2 separate regions of the Homo sapiens genome follow, and region 1 is linked to region 2. Evidence: promoter capture Hi-C in 16 types of primary human blood cells and fetal thymus (Javierre and others, 2016). All regions are on one chromosome and are shown on one strand. Each heading gives the region's core, a stretch centred on a gene start or on the middle of the fragment in contact. The rest is flanking DNA. Distances are from core to core; before and after follow the strand shown.

Region 1 (3,848 bases), core at 960-3,459, 140 kb after region 2:
GTTTCACCCTGTCATCCAGGCTGCAGTGTGCAGTGGCATGATCTCGGCTCACTGCACCCTCTCCCTCCCGGGTTCAAGCAATTCTCTGCCTCATCCTCCCGAGTGGCTGGGATTACAGGTGTCTGCCACCACGCCTGTCTAATTTGTGTATTTTTAGTAGAGATGGGGTTTCACCATCTTGGCCAGGCTGCTCTTCATTTCCTGACCTCATGATCCACTCGCCTCGGCCTCCCAAAGTGCTGGGATTACAGGCGTGAGCTACCACGCCCGGCCCCACTTGTGTTTTTATTATTTATTATTATTTTTGAGATGGAGTTTCACTCTTGTTGCCTAGGCTGGACTGCAATCACGCTATCTCGGCTCACTGCAACCTCCACCTCCCGGGTTCAAGTGATTCTGCTGCCTCAGCCTCCCGAGTAGCTGGGATTACAGGTATGTGCCACCATGCCCGGCTAATTTTGTATTTTTAGTAGAGATGAAGTTTCTACATGTTAGTCAGGCTGGTCTTGAATTCCCGACCTCAGGTGATCCGCCCGCCTCGGCCTCCCAAAGTGCTGGGATTACAGGCATGAGCCACAGTGCCCGGCCAGTTGTGTTTTTTAAAAAGGGTGAGAGATACATACATATAATATACACACGTGTGTATACTTCTTTAACATATGCATTGAGTACCTTTGGAAACATACATGAAACTGGTAGCGCTGGCTATCTCCCAGAATGGGCCTGGGTGTCTGGGAGCCAGGGAGATTTTTACTGAGTATCTTTCCCTTTGCATTTTCTAGCATGTAATTAAATACTCTATATTTAAAGAAAAAAATTCAAACCACCATCAGTTACCTTCTCTGGGTCAATCTTGTCATAGAGTTTCAATACGTAAAGAACACGGTCCTGGATGCCCTCTAACGTCAAAGGAGGCATGTCGCTATACTGGCGGCACAACTGTGTAACTCTACCAGGAACCTAGAGCGACGGCAGGAAGGAAACACTGTCATTGAATGGAAAATACCTCTAAATCAATGCACAAGCCTATAGGTAACTTTCACAGAACTTTCGGGGCTTTAGAGAACCCACAGCATCTGATTCTCATTGTGGCCACCAGGACACACTAAGTTGCAGGACTGGGTAATCGCAGAAGCCCCAACAGTTCAGCAGCATCTCAGGCCTCCTTCCTGGGAGTCAGGACCGGCCCCTCTGCCTCCTGGCTTCAACCCTCAGGCTCTGGACATTCATACTGCTCTGCGACACTAACTGCCACTAAAATTGTCTAGCGTCTGCAGAATGCCTGTGTCTTCTCATGGCATCTTCAGCATCCCGAGGCCTCTACAGGGTGCTGCCACCTTTAATAGGCTGACCCAAGTCAAAATAACCCAAAAGGAAAGAGCTGTCATGGTAAACCCAAAGGCAATTCAAATTGAGGACCATACACCAGAAAGGTCTAGTTTGGTTCCAGCAGTTATCTCCCTGATCTCAGCCAGGACAAAGGAAGCTGGCCTCCCACCCAAAGAGGGGATGAGGGAGCTTACAGTCACTACATTCCAATCTGTTTCCCTTCCAGCGAGGCTTGCCTCATGGCCACCAGCCAAACCATGAGCCCTTCTGGCCTGTGCCATGTTAGAGCAATACCTCACGTATCTCTGGTATTAGTCGGCTCAATGTTTAGGTATTAGGGTATTGACCAGATTTCATTCAACAAATGTGGAATGAGCTGCAATTACAGGTCAGGGGGTTTAATGCTGTGGAAGGTACGACGCAGAATCAGAGAAAACAAAACAGGGTATCTGGCAGTTTTGCTCACTACTGAAATCCCTAATCTGGCTAGTCGTGGTGGCTCACGCCTATAATCACAACACTTTGGGAGGCCACGGTGAGCAGATCACCTGAGGTCAGGAGTTCGAGACCAGCCTGGCCAACATGGTGAAACCCCGTCTCTACTAAAAATACAAAAATTAGCCAGGCGTGGTGGTGGGCGCCTGTAATCCCAGCTACTCAGGAGACTGAGGAAGGAGAATCGCTTGAATGTGGGAGGAGAGGTTGCAGTGAGCCGAGCCTGCGCCATTGCATTCCAGCCTGGGCGACAAAGCAAGACTCCGTCTCAAAAAAAAGAAAAAGAAAGAAATCCCTAATCTAAATTGGTTTGTTTACCTCCTGAAGTTGATTTTAAGTCCGAGGCTTGGCGTTCTTCAGGCATTTCCCTATAGAAAGTGGGGCTGCTTGTTAGGGCTCAGGTCCCTGAAACTCACAAAGGTCCATGAAAAATCATAATAAATACTGCCCAGAGAACCAAACCAGTATAACCTCTGTAGAAGAAACATTCATCTTGCATAAAGAACAGGTATTGGGCCGATGTGTGTCTCACACCTGTAATCCCAGCACTTTGGGAGGCCGAGGTGAGCCAATCACTTGAGGCCAGGAGTTCGAGACCAGCCTGGCCAACATGGTGAAGCCTCGTCTCTACTAAAAATACAAAAATTAGCTGGGCGTGGTGGTGTGTGCCTGTAATCCCAGCTATTCAGGTAGCTGAGGCATGAGAATTGCTTGAACCCAGACAGAGGTTGCAGTGAGCCGAGACTGTGCCACTGCACTCCACCTTGGGCCACAGAGCGAGACTCTGTCTCAAAAAAGAAAAGAAAAAGAAGTCAGTTATTAAAATCAGGTTTAGGCTGGGCGCAGTGGCTCACACCTGTAATTGCCACACTTTGGGAAGCCGAAGCAGGCGGATCACGAGGTCAGGAGTTCGACACTAGCCTGACCAACATGGAGAAACCCCGTCTCTACCAAAAATATAAGTTAGCTGGGCGTGGTAACATGTGCCTGTAATCCCATCTACTCAGGAGGCTGAAGCAGAAGAATCGCTTGAACTTGGGAGTCGGAGGTTGCAGTGAGCCAAGATCATGCCATTTACACTCCAGCATGGGTGACAGAGTGAGATTCCGTCTCAAGAAAAAAAAAAAAAAAATCAGGTTTAATCAGCAAACTAAAGAGATGAGTTGGAGAGTATGATAGATATTCTAACGAGCCTTTCTGAGTACTTTCAAGAGTTTTAGAGCATGTTTCTTTGTCTAAATGTCTAGTCTCCTTTCGTATTATACATGGGTTAAGGAGACCTTTTATACAGGCACATGACCGGCCTACTTAACAATGACTCAAATAGGTTTCCAAGTCACAAATAAAATGGAGAAGAAAGGAATAAAGAGAAAGGGGGAGAAGAAATGAGGTAATATGGCAATGGCAGAAAAGAAATTTCAGTTGGAGGGATCTAACAGAGGCTGTGTGCTTATCAAGAAATGGTACGAGGCCAGGTGTGGTGGCTCACGCCTGTAATCCCAGCACTTTGGGAGGCCAAGGTGGGCGGATCTCTTGAGGTCAGGAGTTTAAGACCAGCCTGCCCAACACAGTGAAACCTCCATCTCTACTGAAAGTCCAAAAATTAGCCGGGCATCGTGGCGTGTGCCTATAATCCCAGCTAATCAGGAGGCTGAAGTGGGAGGATCACTTGAACCTAGGAGGCAGAGGTTGCAGTGAACTGAGATCATGGCTCTACACTCCAGCCTGGGCGGCAGGGTGAGACTCTGTCTCCAAAAAGAAAAAAAAAAAAAAAAAAAAAAAGAAATGGTACGATGCCAGGTGTGGTGGCTCACGCCTGTAATCCCAACACTTTGGGAGGCCAAAGTGGAAGGATCGCTTGAGCCCAGGAGTTCCAGACCAACCTGGGCAACAAAGCAAGACCCCTGGTGAGGGTATATTCTATGTTCGTACACAACTACCCATGAGGCCAACTAGGTTGTCAGCATTGTCCTCAGCAGCTCCAGCAAGTACCTACAAGGGCCAGGTGGGCACCATGTGATTAA
Region 2 (4,255 bases), core at 286-2,785:
GGCTGCAGTGAACTATGATGGTATCACTGCATTCCAGCTTGGGCAGCAGAATGAGGAATGAGACCCTGTCTCAAAAAAAAAAAAAAAAAAAAGGTTTAAGTCTCCACTGAGACCAGCCTATCTTCCTCAGCTGAAATAAAATCCACTAAAACAATGTTTTCTAGATCTGTGTCATTCTCTTATACCTATACTATAATACGTTTTTTCCAGATATATGGATCTGTTGGCTATTCTTTCATACTCTCAAAATTCACTTTTTTTTTCTTTTTACAGTTTATTGTTTGGTACAAAACAGGCTCTTTAACTCTTTGAATAAACACCTCACAGACTCGTGCTCCTAGATTACAAAAAGTCAAAGCCAATTTTCTTTGACACTGGGCTCTTGACTCTGAGATTCAAGTCACTATAACAGAAACTGGAGTTGTTTTATCTTATATTCTGGAAGGTGCCTCAACAAAGACATGTTAAGAACTGGTTAAAACTTCTAGCATTTAAAAAGATCCATCTTGTCTTCCAGTGCCTATGGATAATAATAAAAAGGGAATCCCAGAGATCTGCTATTGAATTATTTAGAGAAGAGCTACTGCAATAAGATCCACTCTTTTAAGTTCCAAAAGGAAACTTCAGGCCAGATGTGGTGGCTCACAGGTATAATCACAGTACTTTGGGAGGCCAAGACTGGAAAACCCATTATGCCCAGGAATTTGAATTTGAGACCAGCCTGGCAACACAGTGAGATCCCATCTCTACAATTTTTTTTTTAAACAGAATTTGTGGGGCGCGGTGGCTCGCGCCTGTAGTCCTAGCGACTCGAGAGGCGAGAGGATCGCTTGAGTGCAGGAGTTCGAGGCTGCAGTGAGCTATGATCGAGCCACTGTAGAGAGACCCTGTTTCAAAAGAAAAAACAAAGAGAAAGAAAGAAAAGAAAAAGGAAACTTATAGCCCAGCCAGAGGAGGAAAAACAACACCCAAAATTAGCAAGTGTTCAAGACAGCCCGGCACCCAGCTGAGACTCCCGCTGACGTGATCAGGAGTTCGGGGCTTGCTCTTTTGCCGAGGGTATTTGCTGTCCATGCGTGCCCCGCCCACCTGAGTGCCTCACGCAAGTTCGGTGACCTCTGCCCAGCCGAGAGCAGGGGAGGGTCCCGCGGCCAGGGCCCCGAGCGGCTCACCCTCCACGGCGTGGTTCACCTCTTGGATGAACAGCTGCAGCTTCATCACCAGGGTGGCTGCGTGGCCATCCGCCTTCCCGGACGCCGCCTCCTTGGAGCCGGCCCTGAAGGCCGCATTGATCCACTCCTTCACGTCGAAGTCGTCTGCCAGGAACTTGGAGAAGTCCATGGCGGAACTGCCTCAGGCCTGGCGTCCAGAACTTAAGAGTTGGCTCCGGGCGGCAACGGGGATGCAGAAGCGAGCGAGCCTGCGAGAGCACCGAGGCTAGCCTCCGAGGCGAACCCCAGAAACGCCAGGACGGGTAACTTGCCCCTTTGCGCTTCCCCGCTCAGCGCACTCAGTTTGCGGCTGGGAATGACCCTCGCCGCCCGCCGTTCTTCTTCCGGAAGTCGTTGGCCGTTACCATAGTGACTGCAGGCGTCCGGAGCGCTGAGCAGAGGTGGGTGTGGGAAAACGCCCCGGACTGAGAGCTCCCGGCACCGACAAATATCCCATGTCTGCTAACATTTGCCGAGGACTAAACTATATGCTTACTATAAAGCCCTGACATACATTAGCGCATTTACGCGGTGGCTCGCGCCTGTAATCCCAGCTCTTTAGGAAGCTGACGCGGGAGAATCGCTTGAGGCCAGGAGTTCTAGGACAGCCTGGGCAACAGTGGAGCGCAGTGGGCAGCAATGGAGTGCAATTGAACGATCTCTGCTCACTACAGCCTCAAATTCCTGGGCAATTGAACGATCTCAGCTCACTGCAGCCTCAAATTTCTGGGCTCCAGCGATCCTCCCACCTCAGCCTCCAGAGTAGCTGGGACTACAGGCGCGCGACAACACGCCCGGCTATTTCTTTCTTTTTCTTTCTTTCTTTATTTTTTTCTGAGACGGAGTCTTGCTCTGTCGCCCAGGTTGGAGCGAAGTGACGCGATCTCGGCTCACTGCAACCTCCGCCTCCCAGGTTCAAGCGAGTGTCTTGCCTCAGCCTCCCGAGTAGCTGGGATTACAGGCGCGTGCCACCACGCCCGGCTACTTTTTGTATTATTAGTAGAGATGGGGTTTCACCACGCTGGCCAGGCTGGCCTCAAACTCCCAACCTCAGGTGATCCGCCTGCCTCGGCCTCCCAAAGTGTTGGGATCACAGGCGTGAGTCACCGCGCCTGGCCTAACTAATTATTTTCTTAATGATGTGTTTTGAGGTGCAGACCTTTTAAAGTTTGTTAAGTTCCTTATCACCTTTTTTTATGGATCATGCTTTTGGTGTTGCGGCTGAGAAATCTGTGCATAACCCATAATCACAAACAATTTCTCAGCCTGGGCAACATAGGAAGACCCCGTCTCTGCAAAAAAATTAAAAATTAGCTGAGTGTGGTGGCGCACACCTGTAGTCTCAGCTACTCGAGAGGCTGGGGTGAGAGGATTGCCTGAGCCCAGGAGGTCGAGGCTGCAGTGAGCTGTGATCACGCCACTGCACTCCAGCCTGGGTGACAGAGCGAGACCCTGTCTCGAAAAGAAAAGAAGAAAAGGTAGGGGAAGGTATGAGGGTATTCTTTAGGTTCTAAGTTTTTATGTTGTTTCAAGAGTGGGACCAACCCAAGGGGGAGGACAAGATGTCATCCTTGGAAACCCTACAGGGGACAGTTTTCCAGGTTGGCCTGCCATTGGGGTATGAGTGGCTGGCTGCCATCTCCAGGCCTGATAGTCACTCGTTTTTCATTGGCATCTCCCTTGGTTTGTCTCATTCTTCTGGGTTGAGTAGGTTTTAACTGGGGTAACCCTTCTGCTAGGAGTCCCAGTTATTTGGGGGGAGGGGAGAGGAGGGAAGGAGAGAGGAGGGGAGCAATGCAGGGAGGGGAGACGAGGGGAGCAATCTGATAGTGTAAGTCCTCTTACTTTGCTCTTGTTAAAAATTTAGGCAGGACACAGTGGCTCACGCCTGTAATCCCAGCACTTTGGGAGGCCGAGGCAGGCAGATGATGAGGTCAGGAGTTTGAGACCAGCCTGACCAACATGGTCAAACCCCATCTCTACTAATAATAAAAAAATTAGCTGGGCATGGTGGCACGCGCCTGTAATCCCAGCCACTCAGGAGGCAGAGGCAGGAGAATCGCTTGAACCTAGGAGGCAGAGGTTGCAGTGAACCGAGATCCGCCACTGCACTCCAGCCTGGGCAACAGACCGAGACTCCATCCCCCCCAAAAAAAAAAAAAATCCTGCTGGGATTTTGACAGGGATTATGTTGAACTGTTGAATTGTTGGATTAATTTTAGGAGAATTGCCATCATGACAATATTGACTGTTCCAATCCATAGCATGAAACGCCTCTTCATTTATTTAGATGGGAATTTTTCAGCCTTGGCACTACTGAGCCCAGATAATTTTTAGTTATGGGGGCTGTCCTATGCATTGTAAGATATTTCGCAGCATCCCTGGCCGCTACCCATTAGGAGCAACATCCTCTCCAAGTTGTGGCAACCAAAAATCTGTCCACACAGTGCCAAGTGTTCCCTAGTAGGAATCACCCCTGGGGATTTAGATCTGATTTAGATCTTCTTTAATTTCTCTCAGCAATATTTTGTAGTTTTCATTGTATAATACAAGTCTTGCACTTATTTTGTTAAATTTATTTATTTATAAGTATTTCCTTTTCTAGGTGCAGTGGCTCATGCCTGCAATCCCAGCACTTTGGGAGGCCGAGGCAGGAGGATCACAAGGTCAGGAGTTCCATACAAGACTAGCCTGCCCAACATGGTGAAACCCCGTCTCTACTGAAAATACAAAAACAGCCTGGCGTGGTTGTGTGCACCTGTAATCCCAGCTACTCAGGAGGCTGAGGCAGGAGAACTGCTTGAACCCGGGAGGCAAAGGTTGCAGTGAACAGAGATCGGGCCACTGTTATCCAGCCTGGGTGACAGAGTGAGACTCCATCTCAAAAAATAAATAAATAAAATAAGTATTTCCTTTTAATGCTAACATGAATGGAATTTTCTTAATTTTCATAGTTTCTTGTTACAGAAAAATGATTTTGTGTGTGTGTGTGTGATGGAGTCTTGCTTTGTCACACAGGCTGGAGTACAGCAGGGCAATCTCAG

The links. Contacts are between HindIII fragments. The CHiCAGO score rates a contact against its expected background, and 5 or more counts as called.
Region 1: a fragment that was not itself captured here is called in contact with the fragment with the promoter of COG7 in region 2 in 1 of 17 cell types (naive B cells); the score reaches 5.1 in naive B cells.

What each region holds. Positions count from the first base shown.
Region 1 is chr16:23,586,360-23,590,207 of GRCh38, forward strand. NDUFAB1 (NADH:ubiquinone oxidoreductase subunit AB1) reads right to left here. Exons shown (of 5, transcript NM_005003.3): 2 at 838-960. Among named protein-coding and RNA genes, the nearest start is that of NDUFAB1, 8.0 kb to the right of the region's middle. The HindIII fragment of the contact is 6,808 bases long and covers 1-3,848 here.
Region 2 is chr16:23,451,654-23,455,908 of GRCh38, forward strand. It overlaps COG7 (component of oligomeric golgi complex 7), which reads right to left and starts at 1,536. Exons shown (of 17, transcript NM_153603.4): 1 at 1,173-1,536. The coding sequence starts at 1,341. LOC124903667 (a long non-coding RNA gene) reads left to right here and starts at 1,090. Exons shown (of 2, transcript XR_007065030.1): 1 at 1,090-1,612; 2 at 3,817-4,136. RefSeq lists enhancers at 1,196-1,525, 1,816-1,865. The HindIII fragment of the contact is 18,303 bases long and covers 1-4,255 here.